2 separate regions of the Homo sapiens genome follow, and region 1 is linked to region 2. Evidence: promoter capture Hi-C in human tissues and cell types (Jung and others, 2019). All regions are on one chromosome and are shown on one strand. The core of a region is centred on a gene start or on the middle of the fragment in contact, and the rest is flanking DNA. Distances in the headings are between cores, read along the strand shown. Region 1 has its middle 33 kb from the start of POLD3. Region 2 holds the start of P4HA3 (prolyl 4-hydroxylase subunit alpha 3).

Region 1 (3,528 bases), core at 780-3,279, 250 kb before region 2:
GAACACGTACATGCCTGATGACCCAGCAATTTCCCCCCTATTTACATCAACAAGCATGTATAAAAATGTTTATAGCAGCACCACTTGCAATAGCCCCAAACTGGAAACACACCAAATAGAATAAAGACATTGGATATAACCAATCATTGGAATACTATACAGCAGTGAGAATGCTACCTGCAACAACTAAGGTGAATATCACAAACCTATTATGAGTGAAAGAAGTTGGACACGCGATGGCTCAGGCCTGTAATCCCAGCACTTTGGGAGGCCGAGGTGGGCGGATCACGAGGTCAGGAGATCGAGACCATCCTGGCTAACACGGTGAAACCCCGTCTCTACTAAAAGTACAAAAAATTAGCCGGGCGTGGTGGTGGGCACCTGTAGTCCCAGCTACTTGGGAGGCTGAGGCAGGAGAATGGCGTGAACCCGGGAGGCAGAGCTTGCAGTGAGCCGAGATAGCGCCACTGCACTCCAGCCTGGGTGACAGAGCAAGACTCCGTCTCAAAAAAAAAAAAAAAAAAAAAAAAGAAGTTGGACACAAAAGAACACATACTATGTGATTCTACTTAACAGTTCAAAAACAGGCAAATCTAATTTTTGACGTTAGAATTCAGGACAGCATTTAGCTTTGCAGGGTGAAGTGGCTGGAAGGAGGCACAAAGGAGCTTCTGAGCTGCTGGTCATGTTCTATTTCTCCTCCTGAGTGTTGGTTACATGGAGGTGCACTTTCTCAAAATTTATTGAACTGTACACGTATGATTTATGTACTTTTCTATGAATGTTATACTTCAGTTTTGTTTTTGATTTTGTTTTTTGTTTTGAGATGGAATTTCGCTCTTGTTGCCCAGGGTGGAGTGCAGTCGCGCAATCTCAGCTCACTGCAAACTCCGCCTCCCGGGTTCAAGCGATTCTCCTGCTTCAGCCTCCCGAGTAGCTAGGATTATAGGTGCTTGCCACCACGCCCGGCTAATTTTTGTATTTTTTGTAGAGACGGGGTTTCACCATGTTGGCCAGGCTGGTCTTGAGCTCCTCAGATGATCCACCCACCTCAGCTCCCAAAGTGCTGGGATTACAGGTGTGAGCCACCGCGCCCGACCACTTCAGTTTTTAAAGTTGAATTTTGAAAATGCATTCCAGCTACTCTGCGGACTGGAGGGAGCAACTCCTTAGGCACAGAACCCAGTGGAAAAGCTGCTGGAAGAGTGGAGGCACCTCCTGCTTTTTCATTTTCTACTTAGCATGCTGTGTGCTTTTTGATGACTGTTTTTTCCAGGCAGGTTAGCTAAGCTGTTGGGAGAAGTGTGATGGATGGAAGGGGCATCATAAGTAAGAGGTCTTAAAAAACTCAAGAAAAAAAAAACGAGACTTGGAAATCTCTTCCACCCCACCTCCTCCCTGAAGTCACTCTGGCCATGGGAGTGGATGGATGAAGGTCAGAGCAGGTGAGTCACTTGCTTCCTTAACCACTGAGAATATTTTTCCCACTCTGTGCATTCAGCCTCCCCCCACTTCCCAGACATGGAGGCTTAGCTTAGGATAAGACATCATGCATCCTTTCCCAGAGACTCAATCTTCATTTCATACCTCTTTTACGTCACCTAAGTCCTTCTGGATCCTCAGGACAGGAACTGAAGCCCTGGGGATCAATGACAAGGAAGGAGCTGCTGAAAGAGGTCCCTGTCCACTGGGCAGAAGGGATCCTCCAGTCCAGAGTGCGGCTGAGCACTTGGAAGCTGGGAAGTCAGCCAGCATTTCATCTTTTGTTTTTTCCTCCTGGGGCTTCCTGTCTCAGAGGTGAATGGAGAGGGGTCATGGGGACTTCCTGGCCTCTGCAAATAAACCTTTCCATTGTCGTTGGCCAGGCAGTACTTCCAGGCCAGACAGCCCAGGTTGATGGGCAGTAACCAAAACAGCAATGCTGCCTTCAAAGGAAGCTTACCCCTAGTCCCATCAAAGGTCCCTGTGGGCTGGGCATGGCGGCTCACACCTATAATCTCAGCACTTTGGGAGGCTGAAGCAGGAGGATCACTTGAGCCCAGGAGGTCCAGGTTGTAGTGAGCCCTGATCGCATTACTGCACCCAACAGAGCAGGACCCTGTCAGAAATAAATAAATAAATAAATAAATATCCCTGCAAGAAGAGGCTATACACTGCTGAGGTGGAAAAGCAGTCATGATCGCAGCCAGAACTTGACCACTCATTGTTGAGGGGTGAGTGGGAACTAGGTGGGGGAGAAGCATCAGAGAATGTGAGGGCTGGTAGGGCCTGAGAAGTCAGCTAGTTTGTTTTCTGATGATTCCTCATACCCAGACAGTTCCTGACACGTAATAGGGACTCTATAAACATTTACTGAATAAATGAGTGGATCTAGTCCTACATTTTCATTTAAGTGAGCTGTCAGGAAAGCAAGGCCCGAAATGGAAAAGGACATTTCCCAAGGACACACAGTGAGTTAGTATCAGAACCCAGACTAGAGCTCAGGGTTCCTGAATCCCTATTCTTTCTGTTAATAACTGGGTGACAATCGGTACACAGGGGAGGGGAGCCATATTCTCCTCCTTCCTTAAGCCAAAGGAAACTGGGGACTTCAAGAAAACCACTCAGAGAGCTTGACATGTTGCACTGAAGTTTGGGAATCATAAGATATGGAGTTTGACATATTCTTGAGGAATTTAAATATTAGAGACTGAATGGAATTTGTAGGACTAGAGAGAGATGGTTGGGCTGAGAGCAAACCCTTCTCCCACTGGCCATGGGGCAAAAGCAGGTTTTTCCTAGGAACTGAGGTAGACCTGGAAGAAGGGATCTGACCTAGGATCTTCCTAAAACAGGTCTGTCCTCAAAAGAATTGCACTGAGGGCACTGGGACCCCAACAGAGAAGATGGACTGCTAAAGTTCAGGAGCCAAGCCAGAGGAGAAGCTTTGCTTCTCAAGGGAAGTATAGTTGGGGGCTCCAAGGGAGGATCCCTTAAAGGTTCCCCTAAAGCCTTTCAAAGAGATAGAATTGGTTTTGGGCATTTGTCCTGCCCAAAACAGCAACATCGTATTGTAGTTGACACTCTTTTTCCTTCATCTTCTCTCCTTCTTGGAGGCAGAGACAGACTTACCTTGAAACTAATGAAGCTTAAATTTCAGGGTTCCTCACTTACAGACCTCTTTAGTCTCACAGATTTTGTATTTGTAATTTTGTATTTTTTCCTTAAAAATATATATTATAAAATTTATATTATTTTTGTATTGATAATAAACAATTTTATACTGATGCATAAACAATTATCACAAACTTAGCCACTTATTACAAATTTATTATTTCTGCTTCTGTATACCAGAAGTCGACGTAGGGCATGACTCAATTCTCTGCTCAGGATCTCAGCAGGCTGGACTGAAAGTGCTGGTCATGTATAGGGCTCAGGGTTCTCCTTCAGGCTCACTGGTTATTGGCAGAATGCAGTTCCTTATGGTTGTAGGACTGAGGTCACCATTGTCCTGCTGGTTATCAGCCGGGGACCACTCTCAGCTCCTAT
Region 2 (3,645 bases), core at 501-3,000:
CTGTGCAACAAGTCCTTCTTCGAAGGGGGATCTGCATGTTACATCTCATGTCTACACAAGCAGTGGTGTGCTGGAGCTGGCTCACCCCAGCTCACAGGAGTTGTTGGCATCTTTATCCAACCACAGTCAGTGGTGACATTTTTGCATGTCGAAATTAGCCACTGTGGGAGAATTGACACCACAGAAATTGGCAAATGCCACAAACCAGAACTTTATTTTTTTCCTGGAGAGCTGGTTTACCAGCACACCTCGAATGTGGTCCACAAGTGATTAACACTGAGTAGGTTAATGATTGTCCCTACAATTCAGTCTTCTCATCGGTAAAGTGGGGCCAATAATACTGTAAGAATACTAATATTACTTAGGCTATAGGGTCAGCATGAGAATTAAATGAGTTAATACATGTAAAATACTCTGGACAGCGATTAAATGAGTTAATATATGTAAAATACTCTGGATGGCGACTGCCACACAGGAAACACCCGGTAAGTATTAACTACTATGTTTACTGTTGCCATTGTTATTACAATTATTGCTACCTTAAAAACTTCCACTGGATTTTCATAGAGGACAAGCACCTAAATTTCTTAGTATGACATGCAAAGACCTTTCACAATCTGATAGTTTCAAGCACAAGAAACTTTTCATCATTTCTGGAACTCAAACTGTTTTCCACCTCCAAACCTTGTCACGCCCATGTACCTTCTGCCAGGAAAGCCCACTCCTCCCTTGCCTGTCAACTTCCAATTTTTTTCATCCTTTTGAACCAGCACCCATCACCTCCTCTCTGATGCCCTCTCCACCCACTACATGAGGGTTCCTTCTTCAGTGTTGCCATTGCATATTGCACAACCCTCAGTTACTCTGACAGCACTTTATTGTGATTACTTGTTTACATAACTGTCTCCTCCTTTGAGTCCAGGATTGGATCTGCTATTTCTCTGTGTAGGCAGCACAGTAACACAGGTACTAATAAATATTTGTTGCATGAATGAACATTGCCTGGGAAATGCATAAGAGGGGGGAAATAGAGTACATAGCCTAGTAGGCTATAATAATAATAATAATATTTTTATTTGCTTAAGTGACTCTAAGTATATTGTGTAAAGCAGTGACTTTAGGACCCCAGAGCTTCAGGTTCTGTAAGTCCTAGATTTGTCATATACTCACATCCTGACACAGTCCTACTTATCCTTCAGATGGCTCAGATGTCACGCTCTCTGTGAGGGTTTTCCTCCCAGCTGTCCTCTTGCCGCTCTTTGCCTGCGCACCTATTCACATACGCATAATTGACTCTTCTGGACGTCCCTGTGGGGATCCAGTGGTGTTTGTGTATTCCCACTCCATGGTACAGAGGGGCGGATATTTTGGGGATCCTGTGAGCGTGGTGTTAACAATATTTGGGGATAGTCACAGCCTTAGACCTGTGAATTCATCGCTCACCCTGCCTCCGCCTCAATTTCCCCTAGTGTGATGGGCACAGTGGAAACACCTTCCCAGGGTCGCGATTTAGTGGAGGGCGGCGGAGACTGATGTTGCAGGAAGCCCCCACGCATTCCGAGGAGCTGAGGAATAGAGAGCGAGGTGAGGCGTCGAAACAAGGAAGGAGTCAGGGGGCGTGGAGCGAGACTGGGCGGTGGACGGGACGGGCCGGGCCGGGGCCAGAGGGCGGGGCCTGAGCCGGGAGGGGGCGGAGACAGGGGCGGGGCAGGCGAGGGCGGGAGCGGCTGCCGCCGCGCGGCCAGGACTGTCTGAGGGGAAGTTCGCGAGCGCTGGCTATGGGTCCTGGGGCGCGGCTGGCGGCGCTGCTGGCGGTGCTGGCGCTCGGGACAGGAGACCCAGAAAGGGCTGCGGCTCGGGGCGACACGTTCTCGGCGCTGACCAGCGTGGCGCGCGCCCTGGCGCCCGAGCGCCGGCTGCTGGGGCTGCTGAGGCGGTACCTGCGCGGGGAGGAGGCGCGGCTGCGGGACCTGACTAGGTGAGGGCACGACGAGTGGGAGCGACCGAGGGGCCTCAGTGGGATACACTGTGCCGCAGGGTGGGGTGACTCAGGTTGAGTGTGACCCCAGGCTCATTGTCATGCTGCGTGGGACCCCAGACCCACTGTCGCACCGTGCGACTGAGACATTGTGGCATGGGGTGGGGAGTGGCTCTGAGGGCCAGTGTGACCCCCTAGACCCATTGTCACCCTGTGTGGGACCCTGACACTCCGTGGCATGAGGTGTTGGCGAGGGTTGGGTCACACTGGGACTGCAGACTCCATCACACACATAGTGGCACCCCCCATATCCAGCGTCACACAGCAAAGTTGATACACTGTGGAAGAGCGGGGCGGGGTGACTCTAGGACCTCACAATGTGCTGTGCAAAGCTGTGTGAGCCCCAGGCCCTGTGTCACACTGACACAGACACAGTGGACGGTGCTGTGACAGAGACACTGTGAGAGTGACATGGAGAGAATACGGTGACGCTTTAGCTACGCAAGTATTGACCTTTCAAGGGGGGATCGTGAAACACCGCATGACCTAGTGAGCTGATGTTTAGTGTTAGGAGTCAGGTGACAGTCTTCCACCATATGTGAGGTTTACATGTCATTGGGACTGGATGGGCACGACACTGTGGATATCATACTCTGCATGTGAATGATGCTGAGTAACTGTACAGGTCGCTATATGAATAATGCTTCAGTTCATTAATTCATACAACACATATTTTTGAGTGCCTACTAAGAGCCAGGCAGTGTTCCAGGCAGTGGGGATAAAATGGTGATCAAGAGCCAACTCTGCCCTCGAGGAGTTTGGGTCTGTAGCACCATGACTGTTAATCAGAGATGTCCACTGCCGTCTACGTCTTCAGTTCTTCCTTCTCTTTACACATGTAGAAGCTCTCTAAATACTAAATAAATGATAACTGAGATGTTATATGTGTGTCAACATATTTGATATCAAAAAAGCACTGTGAAAAAACATACTTGATGCAGAAGATACTGAGTGTAGCACACAGCAGTGGATGCTCAGCTAATATAGTTTTGGGGTACAGTCAACAAACTCTAGTGCTACACACTGTGGCATAAAAGGTTGTCAGACTTGGGATGCTGAGGCACCATAGTCATGTATCGACTTAGCAGTGTCCAACTGACAAAAATGAAAGATAAATGATTGTATATGATACCATCTGTATGAATATGTGCTGCGCCTTCTCTGCCTGGGACATCAAGAAGCCTACAACACTGACAGAGTGGTTATGACCACGTCACTATTTGGATATATTAATATTGTACTTATATCATGTGACCTTATCATTGAGCAAAGACAGCACAATGCACTGCTTTTAAAACTTTGCGTGAGTGTGTGTGGTAATAATACTGATTCTGGGGTGACATGAGAAGAAGGTATGTGGAATGGGGAGTGACTCTGAGGTCCAGTGTGACCCCCAAACCCATTGTCACCCTGTGCGAAACTTTGTGACCCCATGACTGTGAGAGAGAGCTATGTAGAAGAGAAGCATTTTGTGGGTGGAAAGTATTTGCGAGAGATCTTGTTAATAGTGACTGAATGAGCTAATGTGGTGCTTGTCCTTAAGTATGTGGCTTGCGTATAAACAGCTTGAAATAGTGTGACAATATACAATATAGGTATGTATTAAT

What was found. Contacts are between HindIII fragments. The study calls those that stand out against the background at their distance.
Region 1: a fragment that was not itself captured here is called in contact with the fragment with the promoter of P4HA3 in region 2 in 2 of the 25 tissues and cell types used here (IMR-90 fibroblasts and mesendoderm cells).

What each region holds. Positions count from the first base shown.
Region 1 is chr11:74,558,049-74,561,576 of GRCh38, reverse strand. No RefSeq gene overlaps it. Among named protein-coding and RNA genes, the nearest start is that of POLD3, 33 kb to the left of the region's middle. The HindIII fragment of the contact is 3,664 bases long and covers 198-3,528 here.
Region 2 is chr11:74,309,745-74,313,389 of GRCh38, reverse strand. It overlaps P4HA3 (prolyl 4-hydroxylase subunit alpha 3), which reads left to right and starts at 1,750. Exons shown (of 13, transcript NM_182904.5): 1 at 1,750-1,978. The coding sequence starts at 1,779. P4HA3-AS1 (P4HA3 antisense RNA 1) reads right to left here and starts at 2,028. Exons shown (of 7, transcript NR_120556.1): 1 at 1,941-2,028; 2 at 1,444-1,565; 3 at 1,171-1,271. The HindIII fragment of the contact is 9,884 bases long and covers 1-3,645 here.